Regions from separate parts of the Homo sapiens genome. Here regions 1, 2 and 4 are each linked to region 3. The links are contacts of gene promoters, found by promoter capture Hi-C in blood cells and fetal thymus (Javierre and others, 2016). All regions are on one chromosome and are shown on one strand. Each heading gives the region's core, a stretch centred on a gene start or on the middle of the fragment in contact. The rest is flanking DNA. Distances are from core to core; before and after follow the strand shown.

Region 1 (6,887 bases), core at 748-3,247, 2.1 Mb after region 3:
CTGGCCATGATGGTATGCACCTGTAATCCCAGCTACTCGGGAGCCTGAGGCAGGAGAATCTCTTGAACCTGGGAGGCGGAGGTTGCAGGGAGCTGAGATTGCACCACTGCACTCCAGCCTGGACAGTAGAGTGAGACTCTGTCTAAACAAACAACAAAAAAAAACTCTGTTTTGGACACATGACTTTAGGGAGATAAACATAACTCTGGGATTTTATTTTTTAATATGCTCCTGAAAACAGTCAACTCTCCCATTTCCTAGCTGGGAGAAGTATGTCTCACTTAATTTTGCTCATTCAGGAGAGGATGAATTTTTCAGCAATGATAGTAATAGCTGGCTGTTGCAACTCATTTCTTGCTGCAGCGTAGCACATCCACCAAGAATGCCCTTTCACCTTCCTTTGTCTTGCCAACTCCCTCTTAGCTTTCAGTAAGACTTGGCTCAAACTGCATCCTCCAGGAAGCCTATGTTAACTCCTAACTGCCACTCTTGGATCCAGGGTTTTTATTTCATCTTGTTCGCTGGTGGAACCGGGCTGTTTTATCTCATTATATTACTCTTCACTTTGAAACAAGGAGGCAGTTAACCTAGATTCAGTATTTTTACTCTTAGACTTTTTTTCCCCCAAAATGCCCATAAATTAAGCAATCTTACTGCCTTACTGCGCTTACTGAAAAATAGCAGCACAGCAGAAAAATAGAAAATCTTGCTATCATGTAAGAGATGTGGAAGTAATGGTGCCCACATGCTTCATTTGGAAAATGTCTATTACCTTTATAAAGAGTTTGTATAGTTTCTAAATACAGGAGCATTATGATGCGATAGAAACTGTTACTTTAATGTTAATTGACGTTCGAAAATTTGAGTTTCAAATGTTTCCTAAAACATTTTTTCTTAACCCTTTTGCTATTCCATTGATCTGCCATTCTACATTCTGCCTCCTTTGTTTCCCTGTCACTTATTAAAAATACTGCCTCTTAACTTTGTTGTCATCCACTTATTTCTCTAGATACACCTTGGAGTGTTTTTTCAGGCTGAATTGTTAGGCATGGGATTGCTGGGTTTAAAGAGGGAGTGTGTGAGTTTGTTTGATTTTGCCAAATTCTTCCTTCATGGGGGTTATACCAACTAGATGCACCTTATTTTCAGAGATGGTAAAATGAGGCAAAAAGTATCTTAGATTTGAGGAAATCGTTACCACCCAGAGTTGTGAAACTTAGAGGTGATATATGTAATACTGCCTTGCACAAAATATACATTTAGTAAAGGATACTGATATGGTTTGGCTGTGTCCCCACCCAAATCTCATGTTGAATTGTAGCTCTCATAATCTTCCTGTGTTGTGGGAGGGACCCGGTGGGAGGTGATTGAATCACCCGGGCAGTTACCTCCATGCTGTTCTTGTGATAGTGAGTTCTCATGAGGTCCGATGGTTTTATAAGGGGCTTCCCCACCCCGCCCCCGCACCTGCCCCACTTTGCTTCACACTTCTCCTTGCTGCCATCATTTGAAGAAGGACGTGTTTGCTTCCCCTTCCACCATGATTGTAAGTTTCCTGAGGCCTTCCCAGCTCTGCAGAACTGTGAGTCAATTAAACCTCTTTATAAATTACCCAGTCTTGGGTATGTCTTTATTAGCAGCGTGAGAATGGACTAATACAGATACCTAGATACCCATTATTATCTTTTGTGAACTGGGACTATTTCTCTATCGTAAGAGTGGTAAGAAACTTGAGTTGAGATAGTGTTTGAAAGCACGCTAGCATGGTGCTGGCACCCGTATTAGTGCCCTTTTCTCTTGTGTGCCTTGGGCAGCCAGCTACTTGAGATTATATCTTAATTACCTTAATGGATTGTAAACTCCTTGAGGGCAGAGTCCTTGTCTGGTGAGTCTTTAGCAGGAAGCTTTGGACTTGAATATATTTGGTTTTAAATTGAATTAGTCTTCAGAATATATTTCTGAAACAGTAGGAAAAGGATTTCTTTTTTTTCTTTCTTTTTTTTACACATTAGCCCTCAACTCCTGTGTAATGCTACCTAACATCTATTCCTACAGTAGGAAAAGACAGAGACACTTTCCTTTTGTCTGTCGGAAGCTTCTTTACTTAAAAGCTTTTTAAACCCCAGGGAATACGTTAGGTAACAATAGCAAAAGATGTTGATTCCTGTTCTATCTGTTTAACTTATCTGTCCTTAGGGAGTAACTCCAGTTAAATTACAGTGAAAGGAGTTAGTTGCCATAAGTCTTCTGTTTTATCAAGATTGCTTTATTGCAGGGGGCTTCCTCCCATGTCTTCATCTAGAATTTTCACTAGGAATTAAAATATTTGTTACTAGAAAGCATTAGTTGGCCTGAATTCACAGTGAATTAGGTTTTCTGATGATTTAATGTGCACTGGTTTGCATCTTTCATATCTGTCAGTTAAATTCAACACATTTCTTTTTGCACTTAACAGGTGCTTGAAGTGGCAGGGTCCTTCCTCTAAAACATTTTAAATAACACTAGTAGATGAATTCCAGTTAAGGGGAAAAGGTATGTGCTGAAAGTAATCTTCAAGGCCACAGTATGTTCTCTCCAAACACATGTTTTCACCACGAGGGATGTAGATCTGTGTGCCCTTATTGGCTTTACTTTTTCACTTACTGGCATCTCTTCTGACCAACATCTTTAGTCAGATGTCCCACTGTTACCTTAGATACAATATGGCTCAGGCTGGTCCATCATTTCTCCAGTATTTTTCACCATCTTTATTCTGTACAAGTTTCTTGTTTTTGCCAAGGCCCCTTGTTCCCCCAGTCACCTGGACGTAAAGACTTTCTCTGACTCTTTATTACACTGCATTTATTACACATAGTAGTGAGTTCCTGGAACTGGGTTCTACTTCCATTTTCCCAAATGTGCTTTTACATTTTTTCCTTCCTTCTTAGTTCCTTTGCTGTCACTTTTTTTGTAGATTGCTTCAGAAACCTCTAACTATTTATTTTGCTTTTACTTTTATCTCTTACTATGCCTTAACACAAACCCTCTCTTGGAACTAGGCCAGTCTTCTTGCCATGCCCTCACATAATAACACAAAAATGAAGGGTTGGAAAGGAAGAAGCTTAAAGATAATGTTTAACTTATGAAAAGTTTCAAGCATACACATAGAGAAATATAATGAACTCCCATGTGTCTGTCACTCAGCTTCAGTAATTACCAACCTTTTGCCAGTTGAATTTTGTCTATCCCCGTATCCCTTGGTGCTCCCCCAACCACCACCACCAGAGAGTATTATAAGCAAATTCCAGGCATCGCTTACATGGAAGTACTTCAGTATTCATCTTTAGAGATTCTTTAATCTGTCAGTTTACCTACTGCAGAATATCTCTACAGTTTCCCTTTCAGTTGGTTATTTAGTTTGTTTAAATGCTTTTGGCGTTCAGAAGGCATCCCATTCTTTTAGTGGTTAGTTCTTTTGTACTGACCTCAATTTGCCTCCCTATCATTTCTCAGCAGTAATATAAATTTATATTTACTCAGAAATTACAAATTTACTGAGTAAATTTATATAATACAATATAATAGTCATTAAGATATTTGAAGAAGTTGCCATGTAATACACTTTTTGACACACCTTTCACAGCACACATAGCACATGTAATAACTTTTATTTGTGTTTTAGAGAGAGGGTCTTGCTCTGTAGCCCAAGTGGAGTGTGGTGATGTAATCATAGCTCCATCCTTGAACTCCTGTGCCCAAGCAGTCTTCCCACCTCACCCTCAGAGCAGCCAGTATTACAGGTGCACCAAGATGCCCAATTAATTTTTTAAACAGTTTTCGTAGAGACAAGGTCTTGCTATGTTGCCCAGGCTGGTCTCAAACTCCTGGCCTCAAGTAAGCCTCCCACCTTGGCCTCCCAAAGTGTTGGGATTGTAAACATGAGCCACCGTGCTCAGCCATTCCTTTAAAATAGGAATACTTGGGGTTCAGATCTTTGACCTAGGTCTTATTTGTATCAATGAGATTAATGAGCCACAGCCCCGAGTTTCTCACCAGACATTTTTGATTTGCATTTTTAGACAGCAGTTGCTTTAAAAAACTTGGGGACCTGGCTTAAAATCAATTTTGAAATTTTGTGCATTAAAAAAAAAATGTGGCCGGGCGCAGTGGCTCACGCCTGTGATCCCAGCACCAGACTTTGGGAGGCTGAGGCAGATGGATTGCCTGAGCTCAGGAGTTCGAGACCAGCCTCGGCAACACGGTGAAACCCCATCTCTACTAAAATACAAAAAATTAGCCGGGCATGGCGGCATGCACCTGTAGTCTCAGCTACTCGGGAGGCTGAGGCAGGAGAATTGCTTGAACCCGGGAGGCTGAGGTTGCAGTGAGCCGAGATCACACCACTGCACTCCAGCCTGGGTGACAGAGTGCACCTGTAGTCTCAGCTACTCAGGAGGCTGAGGCAGGAGAATTGCTTGAACCCGGGAGGCTGAGGTTGCAGTGAGCCGAGATCACACCACTGCACTCCAGCCTGGGTGACAGAGTGAGACTCTGTCTCCAAAAAAAATAAAAAAAAAAAAGTTATTGGCAGACTGTTATCTGAAACCTGCCTGGAATTACTTTCAATTTATCCTTTACTTAATTTCCTTTTTAAGTTTAGAGCTTTTTAGTGATTTAAGCAAATTTTCCTATGTACACTAGTATTTGTCAAGATAAATTTTTAAAGCTTGGTCCATTTTTTACTATAAAAGTAATTGTGGGGAAAACTAGAAAACAAGATGAAGTATATGCACAAAAACTCAAGTTACTCATAAATTGACTACCCTAAGATAACTGCTTTTAATATTTTGATGTCTGTATTCCAGTCTTCTTCATATGTATTTATGCGTTTGTTGAATTATACACAGAGTAGTTTTTTTTAATGTGATGTCCTTTCCATACTCTAGGGCTGTATTAGCAGATCTTGATGTTCTGAAGCTTGTTTATTGCATCTGGCCTGCAAACAAAATTAATTGACACACATGCTTTATTCCAGATTGTGGTGCTATTACATGTATTGTCATTATTATGATTTTAGCCATAAGTGTTTGGTTTGAGGCAGAAGTAGTGGGATATTGCTGTCAAGTAAACTGGGGCCACTAACCTTGTGGGAATCAACTTAGCATTTTAAAATTATAGACTCGAGGTTTTTAGAAGAAGCTGAAGGGTTCTGTATGCTGCATGGAAGATTGAGTTCAAATCCTACTTCTGACACCATATGATATTATTTTTCCCATCTCTGTAGGATGGGAATTTCTTACAGTTAGTACTACGGTCATGCAGATTTCTATTTTCCCAGGGCCTGACACAGAATAGATGCTCAGCAGATTATGACACATGTGGCTTCTTTTGCTGTGAGCCAGTCATGGGATGAAGACACATTGCCTATGCATTATTAATTGATTGCTATAAAACATGTTGCCTCAAAATATAATAGCTTAAAACAACAGACACTTATTTTCTCATGTAGTTCCTGTGAGTCAGGAATCCAGACATAGTTTATCTGGGTGGCTTTGGCTTACCATCTGTAGATTGCAGTCAGTATGTCAGCCAGGGCTGCAGTCATTTGAAAACTTAATTTAGGCTAGAAGGTCCACTTCCAGGATGGCTCATTCACATGGCTAATTGGCAGGAAGCTTAAGTTTCTTACTACATGGGCCTTTCCAGAGGGCTTCTGAGTGAGTACATGACAGTGTGTCACTGGCCTCCCCCAGAGCAAGGAGAGAGCAGGAAGGAAGATCTAATACCTTTTATGGCCTAGTGTCGGAAGTTGCCCCCTCACAATTCCACTTCATCTTGTTTGTTAGGAGTGAGTCACAGTGTCCAGCCCACACTCAAGGGGAGGGGAATTAGGCTATACCTCTTGAAAAGCGGAGTAACAAACAATCTTATAGTCAAGATTGTGTTTGTGTAAGGTTAGAATAGAGGGTCCGGAAATAGACCTATAATTATATGACCGCTCGAAAACGCCAAGACAATTTAATGGGGAAAGGGCCATCTTTTAAAAAATAATGCTAGGCTATTCACAGTAGCAGAAACATGGAATCAACCTCAATTTTCATTAATGGTAGACTGGATTAAAAAAAAGAATGTGGCGCATGTACACCACGGAATACTGTGCAGCCATAAGAAGAACGAGATTGTGTCCTTTGCAGGAACATGGATGGAACTAGAGGCCATTACCCTTAGCAAACGTAACAGAGGAACAGAAAACCAAGTATTGCATGTTCTCACTTATAAGTGGGAGCTAAATGATGAGAACACATGGACACATGTAGGGGAACAGCAGATACAGGGGCCTTTTGGAGGGTGGAGGGTGAGAGGAGGGAGAAAATCAGGAAACATAATTAGTGGGTACTAGGCTTAATTCCTGGGTGATGAAATAATCTGTACAACAAACCTCCATGACACGAGTTTACCTATATAACAAACCTGCACATATACCCCTGAACTTAAAAGTTAAAAAAAAATGGTGTTAGAACAACTTGACGTCTTTATTGATTAGAAAAAAATGAACACTGGCCCTTAACTCTGCAAAACTGCTAGAAAATAAATAAATAAATAAATAAATAAATAAATAAATAAATAAATAAATAAGGTGGTGGTGGTGATATGCCCTTGTAATCCCAGCCATTCCAAGGGCTGTGGCAGGAGGATTGCTTGAGCCCAGGAGTTCGAGAGGAGCCTGCGTAACATCGTGATATAAGAAAATGAGACTCTTTCCCTGCCTTTCCCTGCAAAAGAGAGAGAGAGAAAATCTGTGTAGCCCTTGAGTAGGCAACGATATCTTGGGGCACAAAACATACAGACCCTAAAAGAGAAAATTGATGAAGTGGACTTGATCAAAATTTAAAACTTTTGCTCTTTGA
Region 2 (6,779 bases), core at 1,054-3,553, 2.1 Mb after region 3:
AACTAAATAATATAGCTAGCAGTAACGGTCACCAACTCCTGCTTTTCTTTGGTTCAGTAGATAGAGTAAAATGGAAAATAGGAAACCAAGGTCAGTCCCCAAATCTCATTTTAACCAATAGCAGCAAAAAAAAAAAAAAAAAAAAGGAATTGAGTCTGACTTTTTCCCCTTGCTGTCAGCATAAAGATGGGGAATTGAGAGAGTTGGAAAGACATTCATTAGTTTGTTCAGATTATTAAATAACATGTCTTAAAGTTTATATTCCAAAATTGGGCTGTGAGGTTTTTTTGTTTTGCTTGTTTTCAGTGCATGTGTGGGGTGGGGAGGTGCAAAAAAATGTTTGCCTTCTAATATACAGCTTTGTTGTATATTAATTATATAGTAACAGTTGTCCCTGCTGCTAATGGTATGGAAAATGATTCTGTTGTGCTTTCTGAATACATATCATTTTAGAAGTTTCAGATTATACTAAAACCATGTTATTTCATATTAGTTGGACATGAATGCATATTTATATGACACATCATTATCAACTTTTGCCTTTTGCCATCTTTTTAGTGCAAAGTAAAACTGATATTCTTCAAATCCAAAGTCGTTTCCTCAGAAGTGTGTTTTGTGAGGGATTGCATCTTTCCCATGTGAAACTGTGTCGAACTCCAGTAAACTGTGTTTGCTTGGGAAAATGAATTCAAATGTAATTAGTTTGAATGAAGCTGTGGAAATGTTTGAAATGAGTATTTTGACATTGGACCTGGAGGTTTAAAAAAAAAAACCCTATTGAAAGAATAGTAAAATATATTGGATGTGGAGGTGAGAGTCAGTTGAGTGAATTTTCTGTGTTGTATGGTTTAGATTATCTGACTATCCCTTAATTATTTTGAAACCATTAACTTTGGATAATAAGGGCATTTAGGCAAACAGTTGACACATGGATTTCTTAAGGTAAAAAGTTTAGAGACTTCCAAACTAGTCCTTAAGAGGCGAATGGGTATTGTGTTTAAAGGAAGCTTTCAGATTGTGTTTAAACTTCGAGTAGTAATATTTGGAACTGTCTTTTCTCCCTATTTCCATGCCTCATACATCTCAAGTTTGAGCAGCAGCTTTCCATCCCCATGGCTCCAGGCCAATAGCTGCAGTAGAAAATCTAAAATAGAGGCCAGGGTTGGAATAATTAGCATTTTGCCAACCCCCACCCTCCCTGCCACCTGCCTATCTAGATGTGGACAGTATGTGCTGTGTTGATAGCATAGGGCCTGGGAAGGGTGGAGAGGGATGTAAATGAGGGCAGGGTGGACAAAGTTTGATTGGGGGTTGCGGGGAAGCTTGTAGAGGAATGTCTGTTAGATATTGATGGTATTTTGGTGGCGTTATGAGAAATGGCTGATAGTTTGCTGAAATGATTTAATAGTAAATAGATATTGTTGAACATTTTCTGTGTGTATAGGAAAGATCCTAGATATTTTTCACACTGGGAGAGAAGTGATGTTACTGGTATCTCATGCATATCTCTGGAGTATATAGATCGTAATATCAACTTTGGCTATCTGTATCGAAGTTTGTATTAACTGTCTTTATGTGTGTCATTTATGTCTCTTAACGTTTAGTAAGAAAGAAATTCCAAGGAAGGTAGGCAACTTTTAATTTTAACTTCTTTCCTTTACTTTTTTTTTGGGCGGGGTGGGGGGCAGACAGGGTTTCTGTTTGTTGCCCGGGCTGGAGCGCAGTAGTGTGATTGCAGCTCACTGCAACCTCTGCCTCCTGGGCTCAAGCGATCCTCCTACCTCACCCTCCCAAGTAGCTGGAACTACAGGTGCATGTCACCACGCCGGGCTAATTTTTGCATTTTTTGTAGAGACGAGGTTTCTCGCCATGTTGCCCAGGCTGGTCTTGAACCCCTGGGCTCAAGCAGCCTGCCCACCTCAGCCTCTCAAAGTGCTGGGCATGAGCCACTGTGCCTGACCCTTAATTTCTTTTTGGTAGGTATTCATTTTTCATTTGTTGTCTTAAGCTTCTAGTTTCACTCACTTACCTGTCTGCTAAATTTTTCTGAAATGTGTAATAAATGTTTTAATTTACCATCTCCCTTCTACCCTTCCCATCAGATTTGGGGTGGGGAGGCATCTCTACCAGGCAATTAATTCCCCTCTGAGCCTTTGAAATTAACATTTTTGTTTCTGTGGATTCAAGGAGCCTAAAGAACACAGTTCATTAGCATTCCTAAGAAACACCTAGGTAAGCTCCAACAAAAGATGTTAAAGCAATCAGTATTTTTAGGGACTTCAGATCTCCTGTATTTGTTGTTGTAAATGATGATGTTGGGAAAAGAATTTAACAGATCCCTGGGTATTCTGACGTTTTCCTATATTTTAAGAACGAAACCGACCCAGCCAGCTTGTGGTCCCATTATTCTTTATATTGTTTTTCTTAGCACACGCTAGCAAAGATAGATGCCTAGGACTTTTCTTGGCTATTGGAGTTTATAGAAAAAAAGTTCTTTGTTGAAGGTTAGTCCTCCACCAGAATAATACACCCTTTTTCCCCTTAGTAGAAGTCCAAATGTTAATCTTGCTATCATATATGTATGAATGCCCAGATTTATAAAGCTTTGTAGGTATATTACTGATTGTGCAGGAGACTAATCTAGGAGGCTTCAGGATCATTGTCATTTGTGGATCTCATTGGCTAAGACCTTTTACTTAACCTGACTCCAGTAAGGTAGCCCCTTTGTTTCCTTGTAGTTGACTATGTGAGCTCTTGCCAAGCAGCAGAAGTGGGATGAAGGGAACTAATTTTGAAAACTTATTAGGCACCACATTTTTATGTGCATTAAATCTGAATTGAATAAAGATAATATAGATTGCATAGGCTTATGGGGAGAACCAGAGACCAGGAAAGGAAACGTTTTTTTCTTTTTACCCTTTATGCCTTTTCATGTCCCCTTTTTGATAACATGCTGCCTTGGTCCAGATTCTGGAAACCCCACTCAGGCTGTAATTGGTAAGCTTCTAGTACAGATGTCAGAACCTGCCCTTGATTATCTGCTGTTAGAGATAGCTTGGACCCTTTGTATGTGGAATGTTAGGTCTAGGGGAAGAGTGGGGGTGTGAGGAGACAGCTGTGGTAAAATAGAAAATTGGTGTAGGATTCCGAAAAATCGAGATAAGTCCCTGTTCTTCCTATGAAACATGATCTGACCACTGAACCTTGTTTTCTTATCCATAAGCAAGGATAATATTTATGTTTCACAAACTGTTGAGAATTAGATAAGTATATGAAGGTGCCTCTCTGTCCTCATTGTAAAATGTAAACTTTGATGAGACAGCCTCTATTCTCAACTGGATCTTTATTTTGAATGTTAGGTTTGAAATAGTGATTGATGTTGGGGAGTCTGTCTTTCATTGGTATTCCCTGTTAAAGTTTTAAATCTTCTTGACATTTACACAGTGAATTGTAACATGTAACTAGTGTTGTTGAGTCTTTACCTAATTGAATCAGCAGAGCCTACACTGATGTCTTCCAGTTACAAAGCGGTCACTGTAAAGTAAAAGGTGTCTTCATATCTAGGTTTGGGCTGAGAAGGATCCAATTGTATATCTAGTTCCTACTTTTCTTTTTTTTTTTTTTTTGAGATGGAGTCTCACTCTGTTACCCAGGCTGGAGTGCAGTGGCGCAATCTCGGCTCACTGCAAGCTCCGCCTCCCAGGTTCACGCCATTCTCCTGCCTTAGCCTCCTAAGTTGCTGGGACTACAGGCGCCCGCCACCACGCCTGGCTAATTTTTTGTATTTTTAGTAGATACAGGGTTTCACCGTGTTAGCCAGGATGGTCTCGATCTCCTGACCTCGTGATCCACCAGCCTCGGCCTCCCAAAGTGCTGGGATTACATGCATGAGCCACCGCGCCAAGCCTAATTCCTACTTTTCTAAGAATGTTTACAGCAAAGTGGTCATTGCCAAAGGAACTTGTAGCAGTACAGAAGATGGGCTCAGAAATGAAAGAAGTCTATTGATGTGACTAATTTCTCAACCATTTAATAGAATTATGGATTTTCTATTAAAAATAACTTGACCCTTTTCGATGCATTTAATAAAATGCCAAGTTCATTATTTGTTAATTTTTTAAAACCACAAAATTCAATATGTCTTGTGTCAGCATATTTTTTCAAAGGCCACTATTTTACTTCTCCCCCAAAACGTTTTTAAATTAAACAGAGAACTCTCAAAGCACCTGAGAATTACTTCAGTTTTTCATTTATTCAAATAGTTGCTTAAAGTGACCAACTTGGTTTTCTTTGAAATAGTAATTCTTGGGAATAAGAATACCTTAAATAATATAATAAAGCTTATGTGTGAGAATTTAGTACCAAATGCCGTGTTAACAGTTATGCGTGAGTATAGGCATTTGGGAGATTCCATGAAAAAATTTGATAAAGTCAGTAGAAATTTCAGTAATGGCTCATAAGTCTAGCTAATGCTGAATATTGAATTGCCTTGAATTTGTTTTTTTGGAAGTGTTACTTAAAGGAAATAAACAAAAGTCATTTAAGGATGTGTTCACTAGTGTTCATTAGGTTTAAGCCAAATGGATCTTAGTAGAGATCTTACGCCATTCAGCAAAAGGATTATCACAGAAGCATCACAACAGGCGCAGACTTAAATTCAATTAAAAGTAGGCAGGAGGACATAATTTTGTTGTATAGAAATTATGGAATAGGGCCTAATTTTAAAGAGTCTTCAAAGATAAACATATCAGGAAAAATATAGCTCATAAAATATGGGGAAAAAAATCTGGGAAGATGAGTATTTGTTAATGCTCTGTAGCTCCATTGCCCTCAGTATACAAGGAATGTGCCCACAATAGGGTTGGATTTAAAAGTCTTCAAAGCTTTGGTCTCTTTTTCTTTCGTTTTCCTCTGATACAGAATGCGAATAGTCTCCCGGCCTCCAACCCCCTCTACATCCCCACCACCCCATAATAGAGACTTAAAGGGAATTTAAATTCGAGTTCTTGAGCTTCTGCTCAATGGCTAGGTCTTTGAACAAGTTAATATCAGAGCCTTAGTTCTTCACCTATAAAGTAGGTTTAATACTTACCTTACAACATTGAGGATTAAAGAGCATGAGAGGATTACTTTATGAAAGGTGAAGCTTAGAACAGAATTTTTAGTTCCTTGCCAATGCTAAAAAACAACAACAACAACACCTTTTTCAGAAATTGCTTTATTAGGCTTTTGTACAAAGGGAACATCTTTACTTTCTTTAAATTTGCACATATATCTATTGTGAAATTTTAACCAAGCTGGAGGGGTCACTAGGGAGCATTGAGTATGATACTATTGCTGTAAATCATAGAAAGGCTGGCTCAGGAGGGTACTGACTTGCTTTGACTTTGCGGCAACTTCAGTTGTCCAGTGACAAGGCTTGCTGCATACACACCACTTTGTTTGTTTCTCATACCTTAAATTGTGGATTAAAAATCTTTGGGGCAGGCCTGGAGGCTCATGCCTATAATCCCAGCACTTTGGGAGGCCGAGATGGGCAGATCACTTGAGCCCAGGAGTTCAAGATCAGCCTGGGCAACATGGGAAAAACCTGTCTCAACAAAAAAAATACAAAAATTAGCCAGGTGTGTTGGTGCATGCCTGTAGTCCCAGCTACTTAGAAGGCTGAGGTGGAAGGATTGCTTAAGCCCCGGGAGGTGGAGGTTGCAGTGAGCCGTGAGCATGCCACTGTACCTACCCCGTTTTGGGCAACAGAGTGAGACCCTGTCTCAAAAAAAAAAAAAAATCATCATCATCTTTGGCAGTGATTAACTTTCTCCTTTCACACTTGGGATGGTGCAATATTTGGCATCTACTTAGGAAGCTAAAATTTTCACGTTTAATTGTAAATGGAAAAGTTTAAGTTGCCATATTCATTCATACAAACATTCAGAAAGTGAATATTGTGACTAGACACAGATGAACAAGACAAACCCACATGCCTATCAGGATGAACTTTGAAATTAGTACGTTGTAGGTATATACAGTCACTTCCTCTGTTGAGATTTTTCATTAGGCCTCAGTACAAAGGCTGCTGTCATACAACATGAATGGGGACTGGAGGTACTTTCTGGCAGTTAATATTTCACTATCAGTGCAAGAGAGTGACGTCTCCATTTAGTCCTAATCGTGAGTTTTTCCCCCCTTAAAGAAATTGGAGACCTAGGACCTTGGATTTCCAAAGATTTCCAAACTCTTATTTCTTAAAATGTTACAAAAAATGGTTTTTTTTTGTATACCTATATACCCATTAAACTTTTTTGCCTGAAATAGGCAAAAAGATTTAAGTTCTGTGTATTTATTTCCTGTTATCTTTTTGTATCAGACATCCATGTTGCATGAATTTTAGAAAAATAGTTTTCAGCTGGGCTTGGTAATGGCTCATGCCTGTAATTCCACCATTTTAGGAGGCCGAGGCGGGCGGATCACGAGGTCAGGAGATCGAGACCATCCTGGCTAACACGGCGAAACCCCGTCTCTACTAAAAATACAAAAAACTAGCCGGGCGTGGTGGCGGGCGCCTGTAGTCCAGCTACTTGGGAGGCTGAGGCAGGAGAATGGCATGAACCCAGGAGGCGGAGCTTGCAGTGAGCCGAGATTGCGCCACTGCACTCCAGCCTGGGCGTCAGAGCGAGACTCCATCTCAAAAAAAAAAGAAAAATAGTTTTCACATTTCCTGAGCAGGTAGGTTGTCGGAATGGCTAGAGATGGTCACATTCTGTGTGAGAAATCATGTGACA
Region 3 (6,111 bases), core at 3,508-6,007:
AGGCCAAAGAAACAGAGGCTCCTCTGGCTGCGGAATCCTTTCCAGTGGATCTTTCCACAACTGTACCCAAATCTTTGAAGCTGCGTCAGCACTTTTGCTTATGCTAATAACTGTGTGAACGTGATCATTTGTGTGCAAACCAACAAACCAGACAGGTTTACATATGTTACAGCAAGTTGTGGAAGACTGCACCTTAGACTCTTGGGAAAATCCTGATATAATGCAATTTAGTACAGCAATTCTGTAAAGGACCACCACTTTTCAGTCTGGGGATGGCTGCCTGTTGTCTAGCTTGATGGTGGCAACCAAAGGGCAGTTAGCGTTTCTCTTAGGAAGCTAACAGTTGTAGCGGGTTGATACATGGATGGTTGTAATGGACATCTATTATTTTTGCTTCATTCATTCAATCATTCATCCTCTGGTAATCTCACGCTCAGATTTCCCTCTGAGGAACCGTTCTGTTCCCAGCTTTCAGTCCATGTGTTTCTGCTGAAGCTGACCTAACCCGACCCTGGATGTGGAACATGGGACCAAGGCCTAAGTCCATTAGTACATTAGATTCCTGGGCTTAGTGGTTGATTTAGGGATGGATACATGGCCTGTCAGGAATACGTTGCCAAGGAATTTTGGAAAGAGGTTTAATGCTTAAGAGGATGTGGTGGCTAAAACTGGCATGGCCACTTTGTTACCACGTTACGCCTGAATCAGCAGAACGTGGATCAATATGATCAGAAAGAATCCTGGTTATGTGGTATGTATCCTGATGCAGCTGTGTCTCAAGTCAGAACTACTCTTGGACTTTTCATTTTATTTTTATTTATTTATTTTTTTTGGAGGCAGAGTTTCACTCTTGTCACCCAGGCTGGAGAGCAATGGTGTGATCTCAGCTTACTGCAACTTCTGACTCCCAGGTTCAAGCGATTCTCCAGCCTCAGCCTCCTGAGTAGCTGGGATTACAGGTGTGCACCACCATGCCTGGCAAATTTTTTTGGTATTATTAGTAGAGACGGGCTTTCACCATGTTGGCCAGGATGGTCTCAAACTCCTGACCTCAGGTGATCCACCCCCCTCAGCCTCCCAAAGTGCTGGGATTATAGGTGTGAGCCACTGTGCCCAGCCAGACTTTTTAGTTTATATGAGCCATTTCTGCTTAAGAGAGGTTGGGTTGGGTTTTCTATCACTTATATCCATAAAAGTCTTAACTGGTACAAAAATGAAAACCCTAAATTCTATGCCTTCCTGAACATGGTCAATAGGTTTAGTCTGGAAATTCAAAGCAAAAAATACCCTTTATCATAGGCACAGAAAAACTTCCATATTGTAACACGATTTTGAGGAACATTATCTTTCTGGAAAGCTTATCATTTGGAAGTTGCAAAATACACCTTTATGTAACAAAATGATTAGACTTTTATGGAATTGTTGGCAATCAACTAAATAAATTCTGGATGCCATCTCAAGAAATATCAGTTTTAATTTCAGAGCAGTTATTTTAGCCCATTCTTTCTGAAAATAGTTAATTAGGAAGACTAAGAATCTGTTGAGACCATTCCTAGTTTGTGGAAATAAAACCACAACATCAACATGCAGGTTATTACTTAGGTATTTTCTCTAACAGTAGTCTGTGTAGGCAAAATAACCCCTTGGGGAGAGTTGGACTTTGAGAACTTTCTAAGGCAGATGAACTAATTTTCTTCCAGGAGAGTGTAGCTCTAATGATTTTAAGTGGCCCATGTAGTTGAGCAAACACTGGCCTGGGAATTAGAAAGCCCGAGTTCTAGTTTTAGTTCTGATACTAAATTAACTCATTGATTCTGACCAAGTCCTTTTAACTTCTATGTACCTCAGTTTCCTATAAGACAAGAAATTCAGGCTAGGTGTTAAGTATGGTCTCCTCCAGCTTTAAGATTATGATCCATGAGACCAGCCTGACCAACATGGGGAAACTGTCTCTACTAAAAATACAAAAATTAGCCGGGCATGGTGGCGTGTGCCTGTAGTCCCAGCTACTAGGGAGGCTGAGGCAGGAGAATCGCTTGAGCCCGGTGGGTGGAGGTTGCAGTGAGATGAGATCTCGCCATTGCTTGCCAGCCTGGGCGACAGAGCAAGACTCCATCTAAAAAAGAAAAAAGATTATGATCCAATAATACAGGCATGGCCGATTTACTGTCTCTTCATAAACAGGAAGGTTTCATTATATGAGTAATAGATAAAATAGATAAGTTATTTTATTTATTTTTTTTTCTATTTTTTGAGATAGAGTCTCACTCTGTCGCCCAGGCTGGAGTGCAGTGGCGGATCTCTGCTCATTGCAACCTCTGCCTTCCGGGTTCAAGGGATTCTCCTGCCTCACCTTCCCAACTGGCTGGGATTACAGGTGACTACTACCACACCCGGCTAATTTTTTTGTATTTTTAGTAGAGACAGAATTTCGCCATGTTGGCCAGGCTGGTCTCGAACTCTTACCTCAGTTGATCTGCCTGCCTCAGTCTCCCAAAGTGCTGGGATTACAGGTGTGAGCCACCGTGCCAGGCCATGAAATAATCTTAAAAGTGGCATTTATTTCATTTTGCCTTATATTCATGTATAAACCTTGGTTTCCGTATTTGGGCTGTTAGTAAAATAAGACAAAAATAAAACAAGGAAAAATCAATGTCATGAAGAACTAAAACTAAGCCTAAAGCATGATGTTTATCTGTATATTACTCAATAGGCACTGCTACTGGGCTACGAATGTGAATGTGCCATGGTCCTCGTCCTCAGTAAGTTCCCTGTGTAATAGTGGCGGCAGGTAAACCACAGATCAACTAAAACTAAGCCTAAAGCATGATGTTTATCTATACATTACTCAATAGGCACTGTTATTGGGCTACGAATGTGAATGTGAATGTGAATGCTGACATGGTCCTTGTCTTCAGTAAGTTCCCTGTGTAATAGTGGCGGCAGGTAAACTACAGATCAACTAAAACTAAGCCTAAAGCATGATGTTTATCTACACTCAATAGGCACTTGTTACTGGGCTACGAATGTGAATGTGACATGGTCCTCGTCCTCAGTAAGTTCCCTGTGTAATAGTGGCGGCAGGTAAACTACAGATCAACTAAAACTAAGCCTAAAGCATGATGTTTATCTACACTCAATAGGCACTTGTTACTGGGCCACGAATGTGAATGTGACATGGTCCTCGTCCTCAGTAAGTTCCCTGTGTAATAGTGGCGGCAGGTAAACTACAGGCAACTAAACTACAGGTCACTTTTCTCACAAAAGTGAGAATACAGTTCCTAGACTACAAGGGGGAATGTTTAAGTTGGATAGATAATTTAGAGCTAGCCCTTTAAGGGATAAAGATAATTTAAAGGATGGATGGAGAATTCTAGGCCGAGGGACTAACAGATATTGAGTCCCTACATTAATTACTATAAAAATAAATCAAAGAAGATTCTTACATGAACCTATGCAGGTAAATTCAGATTTTTTTCCCCCTGGTGGATTTGCTCTGAGTTGAGGTAATGAGAGCTAACATTGATTCAGTGCCTGCTATGTTTTGCACTGTTAGGTACTTTACATGTTATCTCATGTAATACCTCTTTAAACCTCATTTTACAACTAAAATTAAATGACAGCTAGGAGCTAGGAAATGGCAAAGTTACGATTCCAAGTCTGGACTGGTTGTCCACAAAAGCCCCTGCTCTTGCCATAATGATGCCACTTCTTTCAAAGAATTCAGAATTTTCTTCACAGCTTTAAAAATGCATAGATTCTGAAGCCTCTCACTTCCTTCCAATTAGTTGCCTACCTAGAAAGTTATTTCCTCCACTTGAGCTCATCACCCCTTCTTAGCGCTCCTTTGGATTACTGTAATTTCTTTTTCTTTGACCTCACCTTTCGTCTGATGGATTAGTGTAATCTTTCCCAAATTTGTTAATCTGAAGAATTCAGGAGCTTCTCAAAATGCAGGTTCCCAAGCCATGCTCCAGGACATCGATTCAGAATTGGATCAAGGCCTAGAATCTGTGTTTTTAACAAGCATTTGACTCAAGGGTATCAAATTGGAGGAAGCACTGAGTTGGTGGACTACCTTAATTGATCTACCCATTTTCAGTCTCTTCTGCCAACCCATTCGCTCCACCCCACCCCCAGTCCGTTTTTCCGTTTTGCCCTCAAGGTCCCTGAAGACTTCCATATCATTTCGCATTGTTTTATTTGGGGCACTGTGCCGCACTACCTGGGCCCACAGCAGGCGCGCAATATTTACTGACAAATACAACCCACGAGGTAGTTCCTATTATTACCCTTCAATTTGAAATTGAGAATAAAACAGAAGTCGACAAGTTGAGGTAGCTTGTGACATCAGTATTTCGTATTTAATCCAGAAAGCACTGCTTCAACGCCCAGTGCGTGCAAGGTTCCACTCTCGGGCCAGCGGTCCTCTCCCAAAGCCCGTTCTTCCTAAGTGTGCGGCCGCCATCCAGGACACGCCACGCTCGTAAAAGGTCACCTGAAGCATCTACCCTCCACGCTCAAGAGGTAGGCGGAGGAGCGCGCCCTTTTCTCCAAAATGGCTGAGCAGGGTCACGTGGGCTCGGGGGCGGGGCCGGTGCGCTCGCCGGAGCCTGGAAGTGGGTCACGTGGCTCAGACGGGGGCGGTAGCTGTGGGGGCGTGGCCGTCACACGGCGCGATCCGTCTGGGCAGCGGCTCTTCGGGGGCCACGCCCTCCGGGCCCTGGGGGCCTAGCGCGCGACGGTGGGGTGGAGCTAGCCTCGTGACCTTTTACCCCAACATGGCTGCGCCCGTGGGACCGGTGAAGTTCTGGCGACCCGGTAAGGCCCTTGGTGGAACGCTGGGCAGATGCGGCGGCCTGACTTCGGTCTTGGCGCCGCGGCCGGCGCCCTGGGGCCAGCAGACCTGCTCGCAGGCCTGACCTCGGCGAGCTGGGCGCTGCCGCCTCTGTGCGGGGGGAGCTCTGGCTCAGGCTCCCCAGTGGTCCCGAGGGATTTGGGGGTGCTCCCCTAGCGTGAGCAGAAACTCTTTGTGACCTTGTTAAAGTGGTCCAGCCTCCTCAGGCCTCGTCTTCCTCGTTACTGATGCTTGTCCTGCCCACCCCGCGAGATGGGGAATCCTAAAGCTCCCTCTCGTGTCTCGTTAGCGCCCTGGGGTTGCGCTGTGGCCCGACAGACAATGCTGCTCGCTGCTGGAGGCTTGCAAGCCCAAGTTATGGAGTCAGACTGTCCGGGTTCGAATTTTCGTCTCTGCCTTGTAGTAGGGTGACCTTGGGCGAGTCACTTAATGCCTCTGAGCCATGACTTCTTTACCTGTAAAGTGGGCAGAACAATAGCTTCTATGCTGTGGGCTTAAATGACAAGCAGAACGCGTTGTCAGACTTAGAATAAATGCTCAAAAAAAGGGAAAGTGTGTTATTTTCTTTTAGGATAATTGTTGTCCACTCCGAATGTCTACTAGAAAAGGGAACAGTCCTTCATATTGGCTGCCAGCCACTTCCTCTCTTACAGACTAACACGAATCACAATCACAAAATGCTTTACTTGTTTTGTCTTGATATTTACTCATTAATCAGGTTTTTACTGAATGTGCATATGCCAGACCGTACTAGATGCATTACTTCCTCTCTGCAAACAGTTTCTTGTAAAAAACAAAAGTTTTTAAATTACAGCTACCAGCTTGATTTTTTTCTACCACCTGCACCCCTGCAGGTCTGGATGTGCAAAGTATATTGCAGCAAAAATGAAATGACACCAAGAATGTAATATAAGCAAAGCTTTTAATTTTTCAGTGGTTCTCTGAAATTCTGACCATGCATATAAGTGATGTGAGAGATAAACCCAAGCAAGAGATATGTTTAATGCTTTTTAAAAATTTGTAGTCTGTCACTTGACAGTTTTATGGTTCAGCATTTCAAGTCATCAGCCAATTATCCATCCTGAGTTTTATTTGCATCCAAAACTAGGAACTTACTAAGTAATGAATACTTTTAATTTATTCACGCTTTTAGTAACAGGTGAAAGTGTTAGGTATAATAAAGAGCTGAATTAATTGTTTGAAATCAGACCAGGGTACTATTTTGGTTAAAGAACGTGGAATTACTCTTAAGA
Region 4 (6,257 bases), core at 1,134-3,633, 2.4 Mb after region 3:
TTTTTTTTTTTTTTTTTTTTTTTTTTTAGTAGAGACGGGGTGTCACCATGCTGGCCGGGCTGGTCTCGAACTCCTGACCTCGTGATCCGCCCGCCTCGGCCTCCCAAAGTGCTGTGATTACAAGTGTAAGCTTGATGTTTTTAAGAAACAGCAAAGAGATCTGTCTGGCAAGGCTCGAAGTGAGGATGGTTGTTCGGAAGAGGGTTAGCCTGGCAGGCCACAGCAAGGCCTTCAGAGTTTACTTTAAGACAAAAAGCTATTGGAGGGCTCTAAGCAGAGGACTAACATGATCTGAATTTTTTAAAGGATTGCAAAGAGAAACACAAGTTCCTACTCATAAAACAAAGATGTATCTCTCATAATCTAGTTATAAGTCAAAGAAAAAAAGCATAGAATAAAAGTTGTGTAGTATGATAGCATTTTTGTAAGAAAAAACACGTATACATGGGAACAAGGCTAAAAGGCTTAATACCAAATTGTGATTTACTATGGTTTGTGGGATTATGGGGTTTTTTTTGTTTTGTTTTGTTTGCAATGCTTTTCTTTGTTTTTCAAGTTTTCTGCCTTAAACATGAATTACTTTGGTAATTTTTAATGTTATCTTTAAAAAGAAAAAAGCACTCCACCATGAGACTTCCCTTGTCTGAAATCTTACTTCAATATGAAAAAAAAAAAAACAAACTCAAAACCAAAAACCAAAACAACATGGGGAACATTTTTTTCCAAAAATTACCACACTTCCCATGCAATGTTTGCCTGTCATGAACCACTGCACAAATCAAGCCCCGCTCAATGTATCAAGGTCACAAAACCAACTTGGTTAATATGTTGATCATTACATAGTGGCTCTGTCCTCTACAGCAACTTTGATACCATCTTTCCAAGGCAGCAACAGAAGGGCCCTTTTCATTCATTTTCTATGTGTCTTTGATACTATTTTGCGCTTCTGGATTTTTCCACTGTATGTCTCTTAGAAACAAATTAAGCTCGAATAAGTTGTTCCAGCTAATGAAGTGCGCTTTTGGCTCCTTCTCCGTGGTTCAGAATTATCCGGCAAAATACCAATTGTTTTAGGATGCATTTTCTCTTAGTTTTGAAATATTGCAATACTAAGTTACCACAAATAAAGAGCATTGAGATAACAACACACAAGAACGTGTATAAATGGAAACTACTGTAATCCTTTTTTAAATTAAGGACGTGTGGACGCCTCATGAATAAACATTTAGGATATCTGGATAAATATATACTATGTGTTCACATAGATAAAAACAGAAAGGAGCATTCCTTCCTACCTCACTCCCCCACCCCAAGTCACATAAGTTTCTCGCAGGGCACAAGCCCAGGGCAATCACTGCTCAGAAATGTAAACCATGCAACTCAAAATGACTCAAGCCCTCAAACACTCCCCACCTAAGTCCTACATCCCATCCACTCCTCAATCACTTCCAACAGGCTTCCCTGAATGAAAATCCCAAACTGGGAAGGCTTAACAAGCTCCAAACTCCACTCACACGCCACTCAGGGAATCCGAGGACCTGGGGCCCACGTGTAGTGTTTTCGCGTGGGCAGACAAGGGTCCCAAGATTCAGGGTGCTACTGTACCCCGAGTGGTTCGAGTCCTGGCTCTGCCGCCTTCACTGGTCGAGCTGACGCTCTTTACACCGGGGGCATGGGCTGCCACATCCCAGCAGAGTGCAAGGGCCCTCGGGCGTGGACGCAGGCGGCTCTCGGGTGCACACGCGGAACGCACACTCGGGCATGCACTCTCACACGGTCAGGCGGGCCTGCGCGAACGCCCCCGCTTCCCCTCTACCACCCCCTTTTGCGCCTTCTACGATGGTGGCACGCGGGGCTACCCTGACCCCTAGGACCCCTGGACGCCCGCTCCTGGAGCCCGGGGGGTGATGACAGATGGCGGAGGGCGGGGCTCCGGGGGGAAGGGGCGGAGCCTCTCAGCATGGGGGTGCTGGCGGCTGACAGAAAGACCAGGGGCAGCCGGCGGGAGGGGGCTGACTGAGACTGCGGGCCGGCCGCGGGCCAGGCGTGGCGGGAAGGAGCTCGCGCAGACACAGGGTCTGACAGGCAGAGAGAGATACAGACACCGGGGACTGACAGCCGCGGGGGCACGCGGGGCCGGCTGGCCGTGGCGGGCGCTCACCTGGCAGCGGCGGCGGTGGCGGCGCCCGCGACCGGGCCGCTCTTCCCGCGCTGCGGGCCTCCCTCCCCGCGGCCGGGCGGGCGGCCGGCGCAGGCCCCGCAGAGGCGGCGGCGGCGGCGACGCCGGAGCCGCGGACTGCTGAGCGGCGGGGACGCAGCTGCACCAACCGACTCCGGGCCGCTCGGCTGGGCTCGGCCGCTCTCGGAGGCGCTCGGCTCTGCTCGGCCTTGCACGGCTCCCCTCGGCCTTGCTCGACTCGGCTGGGGGCGTGGCCCAGGCCCCCCAGTCCGCCCAGGTCGCCTCTGGCGGCCGCGGGGCGGGGCTTTCGAGCGGGTGCGAGCCCCCTGACGTCGCGGGGAGCGGACCTTGCCCCCGGCGCATGCGCCAGCACTCCTCCTCCCCCCTCCTCCCCGCCCCACCGTGTGGAGGCTGAAGAAGACGGGGAAGGAGGCGCTGGGGGCGGATGCTGCGGTCCCAGAGGTTCCTGGCTTTTGTACTCCATATCCTGCTCTTTCCAGAGGACCACTTAAAGAAGGTCACACCAGGTTACACTTTCAAAAGGATGTGTGTGTAGGCTGGCAGGGGCTCTCGCTCCTGTCTGCCCCCACTCCTCCAATTCCAGTGTTTCCCAACAAGCGTCGACTAGGAGTGGTCTTTTATCCAACCAAGGGTTCACTGCAATTTTTAATATTTTCTGTTTTCTTAAGAATAATAACAAAAAAACTAACTCTTGATCACTGTTTTAACATTGAGTCTTCAAGTACTTGAACTTTCAAACATCAGTCAGCCTCCTCGAGTCCACTAATACCGTCCTTTCTTCATAGCTGTTGTATAACCTGTAATGCCTGGGATGGGGTTGGGTTCTTTCCTGAATTCTCGTCACATGATCCAGGCACCTTTTTAGTTATGGAACCAAGTCTGCAGCAAATATGCTCAGAAAGTGGCTCCCACCTTTAGAATCCAGTGATTAGTAAACAGCAGGAGCTCTACGGTCTTGACACACCTGGATGGGAATCCCAGATCTGCATTAATCTAGCAGGTTAATAATTGTCTGAGTGACTTTGGACGTGTTAATCTCTCAACTGTAAAAGGGCAATGAAACATGAGTAAATCAGTAGAAATATTAAAAGGGTTAAATGACACCACATATAAAGATTTCTGCACAGTGCTTGGTGTTCAATAAGTAAGGCTGCCTTTAACTTCAAGTAACTTTAGAACCTTCAGATCCTGAAAACCAGGGAGCATATACACAAGTGTGAGCGATGTGTCCAAGTAAACAAGTCGATAGTCAAACACCCATACGTGGCACCTTAGCTTGCTCCTTTCACAACCTTCCCTACCTCAGTTCATGTCAACTCCATTCTTCTGATGACTCCAGACAAACCATTGGAGTCATCCTGGACTCCACTCTCCCTATCATATCCCACATGCAACCCATTAGAAAAGCCTGTCAGCTCTACCTTTAAAATACCCCTTTTCCTCTTTCCTGGAATATTGTAGTAGCCTCCTGCCTGTTCTCCACGATTCCACTGTGCTCTCATGGTGCCTTCTCTCAACACAGAAGCCAGAGGGATCCTGTTGAAACCTAAGCTCAAAAGCCCCCAGAAGGTTTCCCATCTCAGAGTAAAAGCCAAAAAAAAAAAAATATGGGGGCAGTGGGGTGGAGAGTGGGACACAGTCTCACTCTGTCTCCCAGGTTAGAGTGCAGTGGCCCCATCACAGCTCACTGCAGCCTCAACCTCCCAAACTCAAGCAATCCTCCCACCTCAGCCTCCCAGGTAGCTAGGACTACAGGTGCACGCCACCATGCCCACCTATTTTTTTCATTTCCAAAATGTGGTTTTTTTCCCAAAGGCTTCCAAGATCCTATGTGTCTGCCCTTCGTCCACTTATACTCTCCACCTCTCTAACTGCACCTCCTTCCACTCGGCCTCCTCATTGCATGCCAGGCACACTAGCCTCCTTCTTGCTCCTGGAATATGGAGGCTCACTTCTACTTCAGAACCTCTGTACTTGGTGTTGCTTCCTCCAGATATCAGAAAGGCGTGTGCTTTCCAAGTTTCTACTCAAAAGTCACCTCCCCAGACTTTCCCAGACCACTCTACTAAAGTATCAAGTCCCAACTCCAATCACTATCCTCTAAGCCTGCTTTACTTTTCTGCCTAGCCCTTCTAACCTGAATATCATCTATAATATCTCTGAAGGTGGGAACTTTGTTTTTCCCATCTTCAACATCTAGAACATGGGTCGACATGTTCAGGTACTCAATAAGTATTTCTGGGATGAATGAGAATGTATATAGGTTATACTGCTCCAATACAACTTCATTTATTCAACAAACTTTTCTGAGCATCTATTTTGATCCAGGCACAGTGGGATCCTGAGAAAAATGAGGTATTCTCCCGACCTTTGAGGAACAGTATTTCAGAGGAAACAGTCATGTAAAAAAAATACTTCTGGCCGGGCACAGTGGCTCACGCCTGTAATCCCAGCACTTTGGGAGGCTTAGGTGGATGAATCATCTGAGGTCAGGAGTTCGAGACCAGCCTGACCAACATGGTGAAACCCCATCTCTACTCAAAATACAAAAATTAGCCAGGCATAGTGAGGCGCACCTGTAATCCCAGCTACTTGGGAGGCTGAGGCAGGAGAATCACTTGAACCCGGGAAGCACAGGTTGCAGTGAGCGAGTTTGCAGCATTACACTCCAGCCTGGGCAACAAGAGCGAAACTCTGTCTCAAAAACAAACAAACAAAAAACTTCTGGGAGAAAATATGTAACAAAGATGGATGTGCCAACTGCTTTGGGAAGCACAGAGAATAGCATAATTAACAATATACAGGAGAGTGTGGGTAGGCTTCCCAGAAAAGGTGACTTTGGGGCCACATCTAAAGAGTTGTTGAGACAGAGATTCCAGGCAGAAGAAACAGCCATTTAATACCAGTGTTGGGGGGTATGTCACAAATGATATTTACACACAGAGGCATATTACTTTCCTTTAAAAAAAATTAAGCAGATTTCAGGTAATCCCTATAATAATGTCATTTGCACTCACATTCTAATGAGCTTTCTCAAGCAGTAAGGAAACTGCTAGTATAGTTAATGCAATAGTTACCACCTGACCTCTGTTTTATTGGAATGGGCTACACCTGTGAACTTTTTGTGCCAGGGTCCAGAGGCAAAGAACTATCTGAAGTTTGCTGGCTGCAAGGACCAGAAACCCATCAGACCAATTCAAGGAAAATAAAAGGGGACTTTATCTTTAGGCTTTGGGTGGGATGGATCTCACAGAGGCCAAGGGAAATAATTAGCTGGGATTTTGGATGGGCTGGAAGCAGAGTAAGGGGAGCCAGTATGACTCCAGCAAACTTGTTTTCTCTGCCTCCAGGTATTAATAATACAATGGGAAATGTGTCTACCAACCTCTCCCAAGTATGAGATACAATTCCAACTACCCAGAGACTAAAACTCCCTAATCATTCTAATCACAAAATCATGTAGAAAAGGCTCTAACTGACCCAACTTGTGGTAGGTACTCTCCTCCAGAACAGTCATGCCAGCTTACAGGCATGAAGTTCACCAGGAAGCCACCTCTGTGAATCAAGAAATGGCCAATTACCAGGAAAAGGGAAATTGTTTCTAGCTGAGGCGGTATCTTGAAAGAAGTCCCTCACAGAACTGCTGGTTCCACATAGTGGCAAAACCCCTGGGAAACATTTGGTAGTGACACAGGAAACAATTGTTGAGTTCTTGATTTCTGCATAGTAGGGAGGCCTTTTTTAAGTGGCAATAAAAAAAAAAGTTGTTTTTTTTTTGTTGTTTTGTTTTGAGACTGTGTCTTGCTCTGTCACCCAGGCTGGAGTGCAATGACATGGTCTTGGCTCACTGCAACCTCTGCCTCCCAGGTTCAAGTGATTCTCCTGCCTCAACATCTCAAGTAGCTGGGATTACAGGCGTGCACCACCACGCCTGGCTAACTTTTGTATTTTTAGTAGAGATGGGGTTTTGCCATGTTGGCCAGGCTGGTCTCGAACTCCTGACCTCAGGCAATCCACCAGCCTTGGCCTCCCAAAGTGCTGGGATTACAGGCATGAG

The links. The method cuts DNA at HindIII sites, captures the fragments that hold promoters and counts their contacts. A CHiCAGO score of 5 or more calls a contact.
Region 1: a contact is called between a fragment that was not itself captured here and the fragment with the promoter of DHX35 in region 3, in 1 of 17 cell types (erythroblasts). The highest score is 11.1, in erythroblasts.
Region 2: a contact is called between a fragment that was not itself captured here and the fragment with the promoter of DHX35 in region 3, in 2 of 17 cell types (neutrophils and erythroblasts). The highest score is 8.2, in neutrophils.
Region 4: the fragment with the promoter of ZHX3 here is called in contact with the fragment with the promoter of DHX35 in region 3 in 1 of 17 cell types (total CD8 T cells); the score reaches 5.5 in total CD8 T cells.

Annotation. Positions count from the first base shown.
Region 1 is chr20:41,052,845-41,059,731 of GRCh38, forward strand. All of the region lies in intron 2 of TOP1 (DNA topoisomerase I), which reads left to right. Among named protein-coding and RNA genes, the nearest start is that of TOP1, 27 kb to the left of the region's middle. RefSeq lists a silencer at 285-579 and an enhancer at 4,876-6,075. The HindIII fragment of the contact is 191 bases long and covers 1,903-2,093 here.
Region 2 is chr20:41,033,223-41,040,001 of GRCh38, forward strand. The region is part of intron 2 of TOP1 (DNA topoisomerase I); the gene reads left to right. Among named protein-coding and RNA genes, the nearest start is that of TOP1, 7.8 kb to the left of the region's middle. The HindIII fragment of the contact is 595 bases long and covers 2,007-2,601 here.
Region 3 is chr20:38,957,587-38,963,697 of GRCh38, forward strand. DHX35 (DEAH-box helicase 35) reads left to right here and starts at 4,758. Exons shown (of 22, transcript NM_021931.4): 1 at 4,758-4,821. The coding sequence starts at 4,782. RefSeq lists a silencer at 4,623-4,742 and an enhancer at 4,783-5,092. The HindIII fragment of the contact is 4,420 bases long and covers 1,356-5,775 here.
Region 4 is chr20:41,315,348-41,321,604 of GRCh38, forward strand. ZHX3 (zinc fingers and homeoboxes 3) reads right to left here and starts at 2,384. Exons shown (of 4, transcript NM_001384317.1): 1 at 2,162-2,384. RefSeq lists silencers at 1,904-2,193, 2,204-2,653 and an enhancer at 2,764-2,813. The HindIII fragment of the contact is 7,702 bases long and covers 129-6,257 here.